Regions from separate parts of the Homo sapiens genome. Here region 2 is linked to region 1. The links are contacts of gene promoters, found by promoter capture Hi-C in blood cells and fetal thymus (Javierre and others, 2016). All regions are on one chromosome and are shown on one strand. The core of a region is centred on a gene start or on the middle of the fragment in contact, and the rest is flanking DNA. Distances in the headings are between cores, read along the strand shown.

Region 1 (4,227 bases), core at 642-3,141:
ACTGTGAGGAGATAATGCAGGACCGACAAGTCCCGGCACACAGTAGGTGCTCAGTAAGTGCTAGCTAGTTGCTACATTCTCGTGCCTGGCTCTGCACGATCCCTCAGGTTTCAGCTTGGCTGACACCTCCTCTTGGAAGCCTTTCACACCCCTGTCCCATCGCAGATGTCAGCCAGCTCTCCTCTCTGCTCCACGCAGCCATTGTCTGTTGATGGGTCTGTGCCTGGCGTGGACTAAGGGGACGAAGCAGGTTCCAGGCATGCCTGACTCACAGTGCCCAAACCGGGGAGTCCTGGGAGCCAGTGGGACAGGGCCTGAGTTACTTGAATCTCCCCATCCTCAGCCGCTGGGTGCTTAAGAGAAACAACCCAGGTGGAGGAGCCTGGGCGTGGGAGGAGACAGAGCGAGGTTCTGCAGGGAGCGGGGGCACTTACTCAGGGTCTTGAAGATGCTGGAAGCCTCCTGCGAGGCGCAGACAGGCTGAAGGTCCTGAGGCAGAGCAGGGTGGTGGCACACGGCGGGCAGGAGGCTCTGGGCCTGCAGGCGGGGGCTGGGTGCCCACTGTGCCTCCAGGTCACTCAGCTTCTTCATGGATTCCAGCTGGACCCGGAAGCCTTGGTACTACAGACAGGGGAGAGGAGATAGGAGCAGGTCAAGACCTGGTCCAGGGGCAGGCACTGCCATGACACCCAGGGTTGCTCAAACCCTGCAGATCCTCCAGAGCCTTCCCCGTCTCTATGGGAAGTCCAGGGCCACACTGGAAAGAGCCGCTGCGGTGAGAGGTGTGAGGAAGAAGCAGCGGGGCTGTGGAGCACAGTGGTTCGAGGCTTTAGAGACAGACAAGCCCTGGTTCAAATCCCACCTCTGCCCATGACCGGCTGCCTGTCTGTTCCCCACTCAGCCTCAGTTCCCTCATCTGACATCTCCCGTGGGGGCCTGGTACCAGGGCACAATCACTAACTGAGTACGCCTGCCTGAGCTCACATGGCAGAGTGATGGCAGCCCCAAGTAGCTGGTCTCTGAGGCCAGGGCTGTTGGGGAGGCCAAGTCTCCTGCACCCCTCTCTGGGACCCACTTTGTTCTTCCCAAGGAGACCATGCCCAGAGTCAGGGATGTGACACCCAGGGCCACAGACGTCTCTGCTATGCTGGGCGAGGCCAGCAGCATCCCCTGTGACGTGGCAGACAGGCCCTGCTGTGACGACTACTGCCACTCTCCCATGCCCCCTGGAAGGGCACTGGAACCCCCATAGTCTTCTATCTGGTCTTTGCACATGCTGTGCCCCTTGGCCTGGAACAGTTTCCCCATCATCTGTGTCTGGCAACCTCCTGTTCATCTTGCAATGCCAGCTCAAGGGTTACTTCTCAGGAAAATTTTTCTGGAGCCTGTCCTCCTCCACCTACATGTGGGTGAATATACGGAACTGTGGGAGCATAACAGGGTGTCTCCTTCCCTTTCTGGCCTCCTCCCATGCAAGGAGGAGCCTTCTGTTCCACACCCTGACCTCTGTGACCAGCACGGGCCTTTGAGGGGAGCAGCGCTGAATCAGTTTGGTGTTGTCATTGCCATCATCACTGCCATCAACATCTGGCTGCCCCCACCCACCAGCTGCCTTGGTCTCTGGGCTGTGATGGGTGTTGGGCTGAGCCCCGGGCCCCGTGCTCCCCCGGTGCCCCTCTGAATTCCCAGTACACCCTCTCCAGCCTAGCCTCCCACCATGGGGCCCTTCAGGCAAAGGGAACGCTGGCCAAGGGACTCACCTGGATGTAGACTGACTGTGTGCTCTGCAGCAGCAGCAGGAGGACCACGGCCACTCCTGGCAGGAGCCCTGATGCAGCCCTGCAGCCCATCGCGCTCCCTGGGTTCCCCCTGCCGCTGTCCACCGTCTCCCATCTGTGTCCCTGCCTAGCACCTCCTTATAGGTCAGGCTCAGGAGTCCTGGTCACTCATTAACTGGCCAGCTGGGGTGGGGTTGACAGCTAGCTGGCTCTCTGACAAGCCGGGGCTGGTTCCTAGGAAGGGGGTTGGGGGCGAGGAGGGCAGGAGCCCAGAGTCTATGGGAACACAGTGCTTGAACACCGAGTGCCTGCCATGTGCCGGGCTCTCCATGGGGGCCTTGGAGCACACCATCATTCACTCCTCAAGACACCTGTGTGGGTGTGATGACGGGGAGGCCATTTTACAGACAGGAAAAGTGAGGCTCAGGAGGGAGGGTGGCTTTCCCCAGGTCACGGAGCTAGTTAATGTCAGAGAAGGGGCTCCAGCCAGGTGTCCTTGGCCCAGGTCAGCCCATGGTCCTTTCTCTGGGGGAAGGATACAGACAGAGAGGCTGGTCCAGGGCAAAGTGGGCAGACACTGCTGATTTCAGGGTTCTCAAGACCCCACTCCCCCAAGACCCACATCTCTCTCACTCCCTCTCCTCAGTGCTATTTAACGACTATCTTTCAGACCAGTCCTGGCCCCACGTTTTGAACCTGCCTCTGCTTGCCATCTCCCACCTGTGCCTGGGTGCTTCAGGCCATGTTTGACCCATCTCACCTGTCTGTGCTTTCAGAAGCCAATAGCCTAATCCAGCATGGAGGAAAAGGCAGTAGTGTTGGAGGCAGATTGACCCGCATTCAAATCCTAGTCCTGCTGCAGCTGTGTGATTTAGGATACGTCACATCAATTCTAATGGAATCTTAGTTTTCTCTTCCATCAAATGGGCATGATACAACCCCTCTCGTAAGGTTGCTGTGAGGGCCCCGGCCCACCTGAGGTTGCCCTTATCTCCTGGGTAATGCATCCATAGCAGCCCCTGAATCTTACAGTTGCCTTCTAGGCAATGCATAACCTACTGCCCCAGTGGTTGAAGGTTGGGTCAGAGAGAAGAGGGCAAAGTCTCTAAGGGTGATATCACCACTGCCATACCAGGCAGCTGTAAACAGTGCGTGTGCCAGGGCTCAGCTCTGCCAGGCACAGACTCTGGCATGTGGCAGGCTCCCCTGACATTGAGCCTGAACGTTGGATTGAAGCCCTGATAGCTCACCTTGGCATTTAAGATGCCACTCCCAAAAGTGGCTAAAATCTGATGTCATCGTGCTTCCCCATACCAACCCTATTTGCACAGGTCTAATCCCATCTCATGTCTTTGCCTACTCATTCCACCTGCCTGAAATGCCATCTTCCTTTTTCTTATCTCAGACTGAAATGAAGAAGAAGCTCAAGTGAACTTTGGAATTTCTTATGTATTGCTTTGAATCCAGACTTCAGCCTTTGCTCTTTAGAGTCTATGGAAATGAAGGGAATCTTACATGCCCTCTAATCTGTAAAATGAAAACAACCATCTGGGAATAATAGCTCTCATTTCTTGAATACTGTGCACAAAGCTATGTTATAGTCGTAATCCCATTGAATCCTAAAGGATAGGCATAATGGTTATTCCCATTTTACAGATGAGTAACCTGAGGCCCAATGAAGCACCATGTTTGTTGTCACTGTGGGAGCAAGAGGGGTAAGCAGATTTTCTACCTGGAATTCTTGCCTTTGCTCAGCCTGTGGTGTTATAGAAAAAGGAACTGAGGACTTAGAGATGAGGAGAGCTGGGTTCAAACCCGAATGACAGCACTTACCAGCTGTGTGATCTTTGGTACATTACTTAGCTTCTCTGAGCCTCCGCTTCTTCATCAGTAAAGTAGAGAAAATAGTAATAATAATTTTTAAAAAGACCTCATAGTGGTTGTTGTAAGGAAAAACTGAACGATACCTGTCCCAGGAGAGCCTGTGACTCTCCCTAAAACCAACCATTTCCCCAGCATGTGCCTGGCTTATGGGGGATGCGTCATGAAGGGGGGTTTCCCTGCCTCTCCTTATGTAACTCCCATGACAAGCCCCATCTCTCAATCTATAGCAGGACCAGTGCTGCTTTCTGACATGCACAGGCTGAACTCAATGCTGGGCTGGAATGTCCATACTTGGGTCTGATCAACTGTAGGACCTTGGACAAGCGACGACCTCTGTGATCTCAGTTTCTCATTTGTAAAAATAATGTGACGTCTCCAGTGTTTGAGGTTGTTATGAGGCTGCTTGATACCTAAATCTATGGTCTTTCCACGAGAGGAAGCTCATCTCCCTTGACCCCCACATCAATGGGACATAGCGGTAGGGTCTGGGGGCCCCTTGGCCATGGTGTCTGTCCTTTCCTCGCCCTGTGGCTCCTCCAGCCAGGGCCCGTCATGTGTCAGTCTT
Region 2 (4,227 bases), core at 513-3,012, 550 kb after region 1:
GCCAACAAGCTGGATAACTTAAAAGAAATGGATATGTTCCCAGAAAAATACAAGACTAAATTATGAAGAAATATAAAGTCTAAACAGACCTATAACTAATATGAAGATTGAGTCAGTAATCAAAAAACTCCCAACAAGGAAAAGCCCAGGACCAGATAGCTTCACTGGTGAATTCTACCAAAATATTTTTTAAAGATTTAACATTGATCCTTCTGAAAATCTTCCAAAAAAAATTGAAGAGGAGGGAACACCTCCAAACTCATTTTATGAGGCTAGCATTACTCTGATACAAAAGCTAAACAAAGACACCACAAGAAAAGAAAACTACAGGCTAATATTCTTAATGAATATAGATGCAAAAATCCTCAACAAAATACTAGCACATCAAACCAAATAGTGCATTAAAGGGATCATACACCATGACCAAGTGGGATTTATCCCTGGGATACAAAGATGGTTCAATATACAAAAGTTAATTAATGTTATACATCACATTATCAGAATAAAGACTTAAAATCACATGAGCATCTCAACAGATGCAGAAAAGGCATTTGACAAAATTCAACACACCCTTTTTGATCAAAGTTCTCAAAAAACTAAGACTAGAGGGAAAGTACTTCAACATAATAAAAGCCATATATAACAAGCTTACAGCTAATACTATACTCAGTGGTGAAAAACGGAAAAGTTTTTTCTCTAAAATCAGGAAGAAGCTAAGGGCAAGAATGCCCTTGCTTGCCATTTCTATTCAAGACAGTACTGGAAGTCCTAGCCAGAGCAATTAGGCAAGAAAAAAAATTAAAGACATTTAAATCAGAAAGGAAGAAGTAAAATTGTTCCTGTTTGCAGACAAAATAATATAAAATCCTAAAGATGCCATTAAAAAGTATTAGAACTAATTAACAAATTTAGTAAAGTTGCAGGATACAAAATCATTTACAAAAATCAGTGGCATTTCTATACACTAACAACAAACTAGCTGAAAAGAAAATTAGAAAAATAATGTCACTTATAATAACACCTAAAACAATACTTAGGAATGAACTTAGCTAAGGAAATGAAAGACTTGTGTACTGGAAACTACAAAACATTTAATAAAGAAATTAAAGAAGACACAAACAAAGAGAAAGACATCCTGTGTTCATGGATTGGAAGAATTAATATTGTTAACATGTCCATACTACCCAAAACAATCTACAGAGTCAATGAAACCCCCATAAAAATCTCAATTACATTACTTTGCCTAAATAGAAAAAACAATTCTGTGATTTATATGGAACCACAAAAAACACAAATAGCCAAATCAATCCTCTGACACAAGAACAAAGCTGGAAGCCTCACATTTCCTAATTTCAAAGCATAAAAAATTACACTAATCAAAACAGTATGGTACTGACATAAAGACAGACATGTAGACCAATGAAACAGAACAGAGAACCCGAAATAAATCCAGTATATATGCTGACTGATCTTCAACACGGGTGCCAAGAAAACACAATGGAGGAAGGGTAGTCTCTTCAATAAATGGTGCTGGGAAAACTGGATATTCATATGCAAAAGAATGAAATTGGATTCTTATCTTACATAAAAATTAACCATACATAAAAATCACCGTACATAAAGATCAACTCAAAATGGATTAAAGACTTGGATGTAAAACCTAAGACTGTAAAACTCCTAGAAGAAAACATAGGAGAAAACTTTATGACATAAAACTTCTAGAAGAAAACATAGGGGAAAACTTCATGACATATTCTTATTGACCATTTAGATAACCTCTTGCTTGTAGTGCCTGTTAAAATCTTTTGCTATTTTAAAAATTGTGGTAAAATAGACATAACATTGACCAACTTTACTATTTTAAATTCAGTAGTGTTAAGCAGTCACATTGCTGCGCAACCAATCTCTAGATTACTTTTCATTCTGAAAAGCTGAAACTGTATACCCATAAAACAACAGCCCCCCATTCCCACAGCCTCTGGCAACCACCAGTTGACTTTCTGTCTCTATGAATTTGATTACTCTAAGTACTTCATATAAGTGAAATTATGCAGTATTTGTTCATTTGTGGCTGGCTTATCTTACTTAGCATAATGTCATCAAGTTTCATACACACAATGGAATATTATTCCGTCTTAAAGAAGGAAATTCTGACACATGCTACAACATGAATGAATTTTTTATCCATTCATTCATCAATGGACATTTGGATTGCTTCCACCTTTGGCTGTTGTAAATCATGCCGCTATGAACATAGATGTACACATATCTCTTTGAGACTCTGATTTCAATTCTTTTGAGTATATACCCAGAAGGGGAATTGCTGGATTAGATGGTAATTCTATTTTTTATTTTTTGAGGAACTACCACAGTGTTTTCCATAGAGGCTGCACCGTTTTACATTCCTACCAGCAGAGTGCAACAGTTCCACTCACTTTCTCTACATCCTTGCAAATACTTCTTTTTCTTTTTTTTGTTGTAGCCATTTTAATGTGTGTGAGGTGGTATCTTCGTGGTTTTGATTTTTCATTTCCCTAGTAATTGGTAATGGTGAGCATCTTTTCACGTGCTTCTTGGCCATTTGTAGATCTTCTTTGGAGAAACGTCTCTTCAAGTCCTTTGCTCATTTTTTTAAAAATCGTTTTGCTTGGCTTTTTGTTGTTGAGTTTTGGAGTTCTGCATGTTAATCCCTTATCAGATATATGATTTGCAAGCGTTTTCTCTCATTCTTGTCTTTTTACTCTGTTGATGTTGTCCTTTCACGCATAGAAGATTTTAAATTTTGATGTAGGCAATTTATCTATTTGTACTTTTGTTGTGTATGCTTTTGGTGCCACATCTAAGAAGTTACTGCCAAATCCAATGTGATGAAGCTTCTTCCTTATGTTTTCTAAGAGTTCTATAGTTTTATCTCTGAGTTTAGGTCTTTGATTCATTTTGAGTTAACTTTTGCCATTTTCAGGTGCGTTGACTGCCTTTTTCTTACTCATTTTTAGGAATTTGTTTTCAAACATGTGTTGCAAATATCCTCTCCCAACCCATGGTTTGTCTTTCTACTCTATTATTAGAGTCTTTGTTGAACAGAAGTTTTAAATTTTAATGAAGCACAATTTAGCTTCTCTCCTTTATGATTATGTGATTACGCGTTTGTCAATCGAGTAAGAAATCTTTGCCTACCCCAAGTTCCGTGAAGATATTTTCTTGTTTTCTTCTACAAGCTTTATTGTTTAATCTTTTGTATTCAGGCCTATCATTTATTCATTTCACATTCGTTTTCTGTGTATGGTATGATATCGGGGGTCAAGGTTCATTTTTTAATATGGATATCCAATAGCTTTAGCGCCATTTATTGAAAAGACCATTACTTTCTCTATCAGATGCATTTTTCTTGTAAATCAGGTGACTGAGACTGGGTGTGGTGGCTCACACTTGTAATTCTAACACTTTGGGAGGCCAAGGTGGGTGGATCACTTGAGCCCAGGAGTTCAAGACCAGCTTGGCCAACATGGTGAAACCCCATCTCTAAAAAAAGATATAAAAATTAGCCGAGCATGGTGGCACGTGTCTGTAGTCCCAGCTGCTTGGGAGGCTGAGGTGGGAGAATCACCTGAGCCCAGGAGGTGGAGGTTGCAGTGAGCTGAAATTGTGCCATTACACTCCAGTTTGGGCAACAGAATGAGATCCTGTCCCTAAATAAATAAATAAATAAATAAATAACATCATGTGACTGTATGTGTGGGAGTATGTTTCCTTACCCTACTCTGTTTCCATTGATCTTCTTGTGTCTCTTTGTATCGATACTATACTGTCTTGATTACTGTAGCTTATAGTAAGGCCTATGATTTATGTCTGTTTTCATCTTACTGGCCTGGCATTGAGAAGGCCCACGTAGTACTTGCAGACTGAGTGGAGAAATGAAGAAATGAGTTGCAGTAGAGTGATCGTTATAACTGCTTTATCATTACTATACAGTTATATCTATCCTGCCATGTGGGCAAGAATGACAGAAGCCACAGGCAGTCGCCACCTCTTCTGTTGGACTACACTCTGTATGTCACCCAGTCTCCCAGTCATTTTTTCTTCTGTGGTTCATCTTATAGTGTGTGTGTGTATATATTATTGTGTATTCTATGTATTGCTCTCCATAGTAGACACAAGAACCTTAACTACCTAGGAAGCTTGTAGGTAGGTGTGCCTTTTGTGCCACAGTCACGTGTATAGAAACAA

What was found. The method cuts DNA at HindIII sites, captures the fragments that hold promoters and counts their contacts. A CHiCAGO score of 5 or more calls a contact.
Region 2: a fragment that was not itself captured here is called in contact with the fragment with the promoter of GUCA2B in region 1 in 2 of 17 cell types (total CD4 T cells and neutrophils); the score reaches 6.7 in total CD4 T cells.

Annotation. Positions count from the first base shown.
Region 1 is chr1:42,151,074-42,155,300 of GRCh38, reverse strand. It overlaps GUCA2B (guanylate cyclase activator 2B), which reads right to left and starts at 1,891. Exons shown (of 3, transcript NM_007102.3): 1 at 1,761-1,891; 2 at 435-621. The coding sequence starts at 1,850. The HindIII fragment of the contact is 11,651 bases long and covers 1-4,227 here.
Region 2 is chr1:41,598,297-41,602,523 of GRCh38, reverse strand. All of the region lies in intron 3 of HIVEP3 (HIVEP zinc finger 3), which reads left to right. The region is part of intron 1 of LOC128125817; the gene reads left to right. Among named protein-coding and RNA genes, the nearest start is that of EDN2, 120 kb to the right of the region's middle. The HindIII fragment of the contact is 2,226 bases long and covers 650-2,875 here.